Linked DNA regions of Homo sapiens: region 2 is linked to region 1. Evidence: promoter capture Hi-C in 16 types of primary human blood cells and fetal thymus (Javierre and others, 2016). All regions are on one chromosome and are shown on one strand. Each heading gives the region's core, a stretch centred on a gene start or on the middle of the fragment in contact. The rest is flanking DNA. Distances are from core to core; before and after follow the strand shown.

Region 1 (4,209 bases), core at 648-3,147:
ACAACAATGCTAACCCCGGGAGCCTGGAGCCGCTATCGATAGAAGACCTAGTGCAAGTCATTCAACTTCTTCATTGCCTGCCATTCCTCATATGTGTCAAGTGTCTGGAAGAGTACCTGTCCCATAACAAGTCTTCAATTACCTGGAGCAAATGCAAGAAAATTTAAAAGCTAGACTCTCTGCTAGCTTTCACGGCTACAGAAGGGCTCTACCATGAACTAAGCTGATAGGAGCCAAAGGAATTTCCTCAAGTCACTTGTATATGAAAAATGGGATCCTTAGTGGTCTTCACTTTTTCTATTTCAAATCCTAAAATACAGTTGAAACCGCCCATGCCAACAAAACTTTACGAAACATCCCACATGTTGAAGAGTGACTAAAAGAACCTGCTCCCAAGAAAAACAAACTTACTTCTTTCCTTATTCTTTTCTTTCACTTACCCCTTTCTCCTAACCCTAAACCCAAAAAACCACAAAGACTGACGCACTAACTGCTCAGAAAAAGTAGAACCTCTCACACTTCGGGGTGATTAAATTTTACCTCTGGCCCCGGAGGATTGGTAGAGAGATTCGACTTAATCACCAAGCCGGGGCTGCAAAAAAGCCAGCTTACCAGGGCACCTCACTCAAGTACATCTGGGAAGTAGGGGTCTTTAATTTACATTACAGATCGTCAGAAGCAAGGATAAGATAAATCAGATCATTTGGGGGCTGAAAAAAACGACGGTCGAATATTTAATCTGCGAAACTTGGCAGTGGATTTGAATAAACCCACAGTCGGGGAAGTTAGTTAAATTGGTTTGGGAAAGGGAACAGCAGAAATTCCGTAGTGGCAGCTGACGGCCACAAGACGCTATTTTACATGAGTAAAAATGCTTGCTATAAGGTGCCCGGTTGCAGGCGACCGAAGGCGCAGTGATGGAGAACTGACGCGGGTGACTTGTCTTCTTCAACATCACACACTTCTCCCGATGGCTGATGTAGTGCTCCCCTGGGAGCACCCTCTGCTAGTCCGGCCAGACGGTTCCTTAAGGTGTCAGGAGGGCCCGAACCTGAGTGCGGTCTCTCCGCATCTCCGCGCCCGGGGTTAACGATGGCTTGGGAGTGTGGGCATTGCTCCCGAGGCCAGGGGCAGGAGGACTGGTGGTTTAGAAGCAGAGGGGTTTGCGGGAGAGAAGAGAACAGAAAATCTCGCAGACGCGCGGTGGCCTCCCTTCCCGGCGCCTGTCCGCCGTTCCCGGCCGGAGGTCAGCAAGGCCAGTAGGATCCACCTTCCGCCTGCGCTGTGGCCGCGGAGCCCCAAGCGAGTCGTGCCAGCCCCGCGGCTGGCCAGCGAGGGGGCGAGCGGCGGACGCAGCGCGGCCCGAGCTTCCCGAGCCAGTCACTTTGGGCTGCGTCCCCCACGTCCATTCCTCCTCAGACGGGGCGAGTGGGCGCCGCCTGGCATTGAAGCTGCAGCGCGCTCACCTGTACTGGTCGAACTTGGCGTACATTGCCCACTCGGTGGGGTCGCTCTCGTAGGCTTCCATGATGGCCTGCACCTCCTCTACATTGACCTCATCGCCGGCAAAGAGCTGGTGCAGGATGCGGATCAGATCAGCCAGGGTCCGTGGCTTCAGCACTTCGGTCTGTTCCATCTCGTGGGGAGCTGGCTGCGCGCGCGTCTCACTGCTGGGCTGCGGTGGAGGAGCTGAGCGAGCCAAGGAGCTGGGGGCGAGGGAGCCTAACAGCCCGCTAGACCGCTAAGCAGACACACACGCACAAACCCAGCATTAGAGTGCCGAAACGTAAGGATGTCGTCGCAGAGACAGCAAGAGACCCACCCCCAGGCCCCTGGCAGCGCAGTGGATCCGGGATCGCTGGAGACGCGGTGCACACACAAATCAGGTTCAGATCTGTGGGGTTCATCCTCCCGGGCCCCTTTTAAGCGCTTGGAGTCACTAGGAATGTACCAACGGCCCTCGGAGGGAGGACGAGGCGGAGAGCCACCCAAGAAAGGTGGCGGAGGCGGGGAGACCCTGCGGGCACGGCTCACGCGCACATCCCCGGCTTCCCCGGGCTCCGCGCCTTCCCAAGAGCCCCGTTGTCTCCGGCGTCCCAGGGATCGCGTGGGCTCCGCGCAATCTCTCCCCCACTTTAACGGCGCGTTTTAGCCGCCCGGCCTAACGCCTCTCCCCGCTCCACCTCCGCCGCTGTGGTTCGCGACGCTGGGACGTAGACAAAAAGGGTCGGAGGAGATGGCTGCGGGGACTGACGCTGAGTAAAGGAGGAAAAGAAAAGGGAAGGAGAGGGACACTTCTTCCAAATAGAGAATTGTGAGGAGCCTGCGAAAATTGAGGATGGATTCCACTCCTAGGCCAGAGAGTGCCTGTTTTGTCGATTGAAACTATCCACGATATGCCCCAGGCTAGGTGAAAATAAGTCCAAGACTTTATATATATATATATTTAAGTATACACACACACATATTTTTTAAAATGCGTACTGAAATATATTTTGACAAAGGAGACTCGGGTCTCTAGTAAGACAATTAGTGAAATGATGGAAAACCAAGAACTCTTTGATTTTAAAATCAAATATTTTCTTTTAAAAAATATCCAGTGCAAATAACCTGATATTTCATTTGATGGTGTAAAAGGGGGCTTTTTCTGAGGGGATAGGGCGGGCTCTGACGCAATAATTTAAGAGGCTATAATTATATTTGAATCTTTCAACCTTAGGCATGTGCTTGAAGGAGCCTGCTAGTACATACATATAAGGAAACACGTTTCTACGTCATGCATAGCACCTAGTACGTTGGGAACAACACAAATCAAGTACAGTAGGATTTAAATGAGAAAGATGTGAAAGGTGGAAGAAATGCAAGTGTAGATTTCTTCCTTCTCATTATGGATGGACGCAGGGAATAATTTGGATTTAAGGTTATTAAAGTTCTAGACTTCTGAAGACCTGTTTTTTTCTAGACTATGATCACCCTCCCTCGTGTATATACATGTATACAATGAAATTTACTTGTGCCAGGTAGTCTTAAACATCTCTGGTAAAACTCGCTACATTATATTCTAACAGTGTTGTTAAAAGCGGAATCACCTATTGTTCAAAAATGGCTACAAGTAGAAAGCATTCCAGAAGCCAGCCTTGGTGATGTGTGTTGCTGCGGGGTAGTGAATTAACAAAGTATTTTGTGACAGAGTAACCTGTAAACTTTTCATGGTTTCCTCAAATTATTTTTTATTCTTGGCAATGTTTTCTATTGAGTCTCTTAATTACTTCATTTCAGCTAGTCTAATCCATAAATGTTTGGAATGAACAACAAAAATGAAATGCAAGCACAATTTATCTTTTCTGCATTTCAGTTGATAAAACTTCTAAATTTTTCTGACAATTCATTTTCTTTCTCTGACTCCTCTTTTTCTTTTTACATTTTTATGAAAGTAATATATTCACGTAGTTAAAAAAAATCAATAGTACTGGAAGGTCAATGAAAAGCAGCAGGCCCTTTTAACCATTCCTGACCATCTGTCCTGTGCTTAAAGAGTCAGTCTCTTAACTCTTCTAACTATTCCTTGTGGTAGTTACTTCCTTTTTCCAAAAATAGGCTTATATTTTTTTTTGTTTCAGCAATTTTAGATATTATCTAGTCATTTTACATTATGATAGCTCCATTCGTTTATTATTCATTCATTAATTTATTCAACAAATGTTTTTTCGGGTGAATAGAAATTTTCATTTCACCTGAGTAAATACCTAGGAGTGAGATTGCTGGGCCATTTAGTCAGTGCATGTTTAAATTTGCAAGAAATTGACATACTAATTTGCAAAGGGTCTGTGCCATTTCACATTCTCAACAGTGATGTATGAGTTCTAGTTGCCCCGCATCCTCGCCAGGTATTGTCAGTTTTACCAATTTTGGCCAAATAGAGGTGTGCTGATATTGCATTGTGTTCTTCATTTTCTATATCTCTAATTCTTATGGGCAGGTCTTTGTTCTTAGAGCTCCCAAGATGGTGGCCACCGCTCCCAGGATGGCAGCAAGCCTTTTGTTCTCTGAACTGGGGTTCTTGGCCTCATGGATTCCAAGGAATGGAACCTTGGACCATGCGGTGAGTGTTATAGCTCTATTAGAAGCCGTGGGTCACAGAAGAGAACCGTGGAACCCAGCTACTAGTGTTCAGCTCAAATAGGACGAACCCGGGCACTTAGCCATGCA
Region 2 (4,209 bases), core at 1,212-3,711, 280 kb before region 1:
TAAATGCCCATTCTATGAGAGAGAAATAATATAAAGCCTTGGATTTGCTTTAAACTACTATAGAAAACAAAAGGAAAGTAGAAACTTTTTTTTAAACTTTAGCAAATGGGTAATTGTTGAAGTAAGATGATGAATACATAGTGGTTCAATGTATTCTCTCTGTGTAAGTTAGAAAATTTCCATAATGAAAAGGCAAATAATCTGTCTGAACTAGTTCTCTCAAACCCTTTTAATGCTAGCAATCCTTGCCACATGCCTACATGAATTTCTCCCTTTTCTGAACCCCTATATTCTACCTGTGCTACTCATTTTTGTCCAACTACTGTCTTACTTTGTTACTTCAAGTCTTCATGCATGTATTTATTTCCCTACAGAAAGGCCTATAAAACATAGTGCTTGCCATCAAGGAGCTTATAATCTTTCCTCTCTTAAATCCAACATGTCCACTCAACAAGCTCATTTAGGGCCAGATACTCTTCCTAATGCATGGGGTAAAAACACTAGGTCTTTAGCCTCAAAGACTATGTAGTAGAATGCGGTTAGATGTCACAGTGTTGTAGTAGAATGCAGTTAGATAAGTTTCTCTGAAAACAAACAAGCAAACAAACAAACCACTCCAGTTAGTCCCCTGCTGAAAAACTTTTACTGGCATGAAAAATAAAATCCAACTCCTGTACCTAGATTAAATGTCCTTTAAAATTCAGCCCTGAGTGCCTTTTAGTTCTAATATGCCTACTTTCCAATTCCTGGACCCTCCAAGCATATTCTTCAAAGTGCCTTTCCTTATGCCATTTCCTAAACCTTCAAAACTGCCAAAACCCTTCCACAGATCCACATCCCAATAAACTTTCTGCAGATCTAAACCCCAACCTGTCCATAGATCTAAACCCCAAAATTCAAAGCCCTGTTTAACTTCTACTTTCTCCATGAAGCATTCCTAGTCAGTACACCCGCTCTAAAATCCTATAGCATGGATTGCTTATACTATTCCTTCAGAAGTTAAAAATGTGACACCTCGTATCTTCTCATAACCTCCAAAATGTCCCACAGAATGCCTTGCCTACAGAAAGTGCATGTTAATTACCTTATTACCAATTTATTTAATTACTTTGGGTATCTAAACTGACTGATGAATGAGGACAGAATGTCTTCTAGAGCCAGTCTCCAAATCTGAGCCTACAGCGTTTTCTATTGGTCTGTAGTACTGAATCAAGAACTTTTAGCTGCTCAATTTCTGTTAGAATTAGGGTGTAAAAGTGGAATTGAAGAGGACTTAACTTTGGATCTGCAAAGTTCTAAGTCCAAACAAAAACAACCCCAAAACACAAACAAAAGAACCAAAGGAGGCCAAAGATGACTATAACCATGAAGCGCTGAGATCACTGTGATAGCTCTGAGAAGGACTCACCTAATCACTACAGATTTACAGTCTAGATTCTTAAATAGGAACCAACTCCCGTCTCAAAACTCAATTGCTATGACTGTTAAACTGAAGAGGTATTCCTAAATATATCAAAGATTTTCTCCCCTTTTGGAATGCCATGGGAAAAGAAGAAAACCATTGTCCCCTCAGGTTATAAGTTGTTGGGGATAAAGCATTTCCAAATATCTAATAGAAGAAAGTACTACTGTTGCACTTACCATACTGTGGTTTAAGTATCTGCTTATGAACCTGTCTCTCCAATCAAACCATGAGCTCCTCAAGAGCAGGGAATCAAGGACTGGCTATCTTGTCTTATTGCTCTTTGTATATCCTAAGTCTAACAGCCTGGCACACTGCGGGACTCAACAACTGCTCTCTCAATTAGTGAATTCCACCTTAGGTTAAAACATGTTCAAAATGCCAATAGCCTGTTAAAAAGTAATGAAAAGAGGTTAAATAACATGTTCAAATATCAACCGCCTGTTTAAAAGTAATGGAATGTAGAAGTCACATGCATTTTATCTTTAAGCAGACCAAGCACAATGTACTGACATTTTCTTTCCTCAGAACCATTTCCAGTGAATGACACACAAAATGTCCTAAGGAATTATTCTAATTTAACTCTAGTCTTATTAATCTTTTCTACTTTTTGAATGGGGCTAAAAAAGTGGGGAAAAATCCTCTCTTGCTGCTAAATCACATCCTTCTCCAGTGTCCCTGCCTTAGTTTCAATTGGTTCCTGCTTTTGTTACCATTAACCCATAGAAAAAAATCCAGAACCAATGAGAGAATGAGCAGTGAAGCTTCAGGATCAGAGTGGAGGAGGATGAACATGTACTTTAATCTGCCCCCAACATTCATGAAGAATCACTATGGAAATTAACAGATACCATGAAAAGGTAAAAATTCTGCACATGAAGTGACAATATCTATATGCATGTGTATGGGTATAAAGTTGAGGTTACGAGAAAACAATTTTTGGCATGAAATTGTTTTCTCATGTTATATGTAGTTTTTTTAAAGACATACATATTAGATACTGATACTGGGGAAAAAAATGACTTAGAATAAGTTTGGCCAAAAGAGAGAACAGACATACCCTCACATATAAGGCTAAAAGATGATAGTGGTGATAAAGGGAACATTGTTTTGAAAGAGCTCAAAGGTAATCAAGTTAAATACTGTTCACAGCTTCTCAGGAGAAAATGCTGAAAAAATCTGAGCTATTTATATTAGAGTTCTCTCATATACTATATCTCCACAAGTACATAAAGAAGCTTTGGAAAATATAACGGAAGTAATACCAGTTCTCATCTCTCCAATAACATAGGCTTTTAAAACATATCCCAATTTGACTTAAATATGAGTTTATCAATAATATCTACATCAAGCTGATGAATAAAAAGCCCAAAACAAAGAAACAAAAAATTCAACAAACCTAAACAAGCAGCCATGATTTCAAACCATTCCCAATATTAACATGGTTAGTTCAGCAGTAATTTGTTGTCTTAAAACAAGCATTCTTCAAAAGAATGATAATTGTTTGGAGAAAAAAGAAAAGCCATGCTGTCATTTGATCTACCAAGCCACCTCTAAAGATAATCAGGAACAAATGAAAACACTTATTAGAAAGAATGTTTACAGAAACATTTTTTATCATACTGAAAAACTGGAAGCAACATAAAACTCCATCAGTAGAAGAGTATGCAGCTATTGAAATTAAAGAGCTATAATTGGTAATATTAAAGATAACATTTATTAAGCTAAAAAACAGGTTATAGAACAGCATATAAAACTGCATACATATATCAGTATGCAAAATTCAGAAATATCTTTGGAAGTATTATCCCTGAGTACTGGGATTTTGTGGGATTTTTACACTTCCTCTGGAAAAAAAAATTCAGAAAAATCACAATGATCTTGTATCATTTTTATAAAAGATCACACTTGTATCATTTTTATAAAAGATCACACAATCTACAGCAAATATGCTCAGTAACTATATAGTGCCCCATAATTGTGTGGTTTAACCTTTCTGAAAGGCAGACACTATCACAACTGCAAATGTACATTCACTTTGATTTAGCAATTCTGAACACAGGTATTTATACTACAGTTATTCTCACACAAGCGTGAAAAGACACATTTTTGTTCAAGAATGTTCACAGCAGCATTGTTTATATTAGCAAAGTACTGGATGTGACCTAAATATCAACCAATAGAGACTAGATAAATTATGTACATTCATACAATGAAATACTGTATAGCCACAAAACAGAATGAGGTAGCTATGTGTGTTGGAGTTGAATGACATCCAAGGTTAGAAAAATAAATAAAGATAAAAAAGTATGTAATCAACCACTAGACGGAGGGCTACACAAACAAGCATGCTTGTACATAGACAAGTATGCTTGTATTTGCATAGACCAACTCTAAAAGGACACATAAAAAACTGTAAATAGTGGTTGTCAGCGCATTAGAGATCTAGAAATCAGGAATAAGACTTTTTATTCAAATGTAAACCAACAATGTAAACCAATTTACACTGTTTGATTTTTTTTAACATGTCTATATGCTACTTTTAAATTTTAATGGCTTTTAAAAATTAGGTAGTGAATTATTTTGCTGTCGTATAAATAGATTCGTGTAAGGGAAGTTAAGGTTTTCAAGTATCAAAATTATGCTATCAAGGCAGTTGCTTTTAAGGGTTAAAAAAATTCTAAACTACTTTTTGCTGCTTTTAGTTTATTACAATCAACAAAAATTATACACAATCAAAAACCGGA

Evidence for each region. The method cuts DNA at HindIII sites, captures the fragments that hold promoters and counts their contacts. A CHiCAGO score of 5 or more calls a contact.
Region 2: a contact is called between a fragment that was not itself captured here and the fragment with the promoter of CDO1 in region 1, in 1 of 17 cell types (total CD8 T cells). The highest score is 5.7, in total CD8 T cells.

Annotation. Positions count from the first base shown.
Region 1 is chr5:115,814,762-115,818,970 of GRCh38, forward strand. It overlaps CDO1 (cysteine dioxygenase type 1), which reads right to left and starts at 1,898. Exons shown (of 5, transcript NM_001801.3): 1 at 1,467-1,898. The coding sequence starts at 1,636. It overlaps LOC124901049 (a long non-coding RNA gene), which reads left to right and starts at 2,327. Exons shown (of 2, transcript XR_007058908.1): 1 at 2,327-2,410. The HindIII fragment of the contact is 6,274 bases long and covers 1-4,209 here.
Region 2 is chr5:115,538,024-115,542,232 of GRCh38, forward strand. All of the region lies in intron 2 of FEM1C (fem-1 homolog C), which reads right to left. Among named protein-coding and RNA genes, the nearest start is that of FEM1C, 4.6 kb to the right of the region's middle. The HindIII fragment of the contact is 474 bases long and covers 2,225-2,698 here.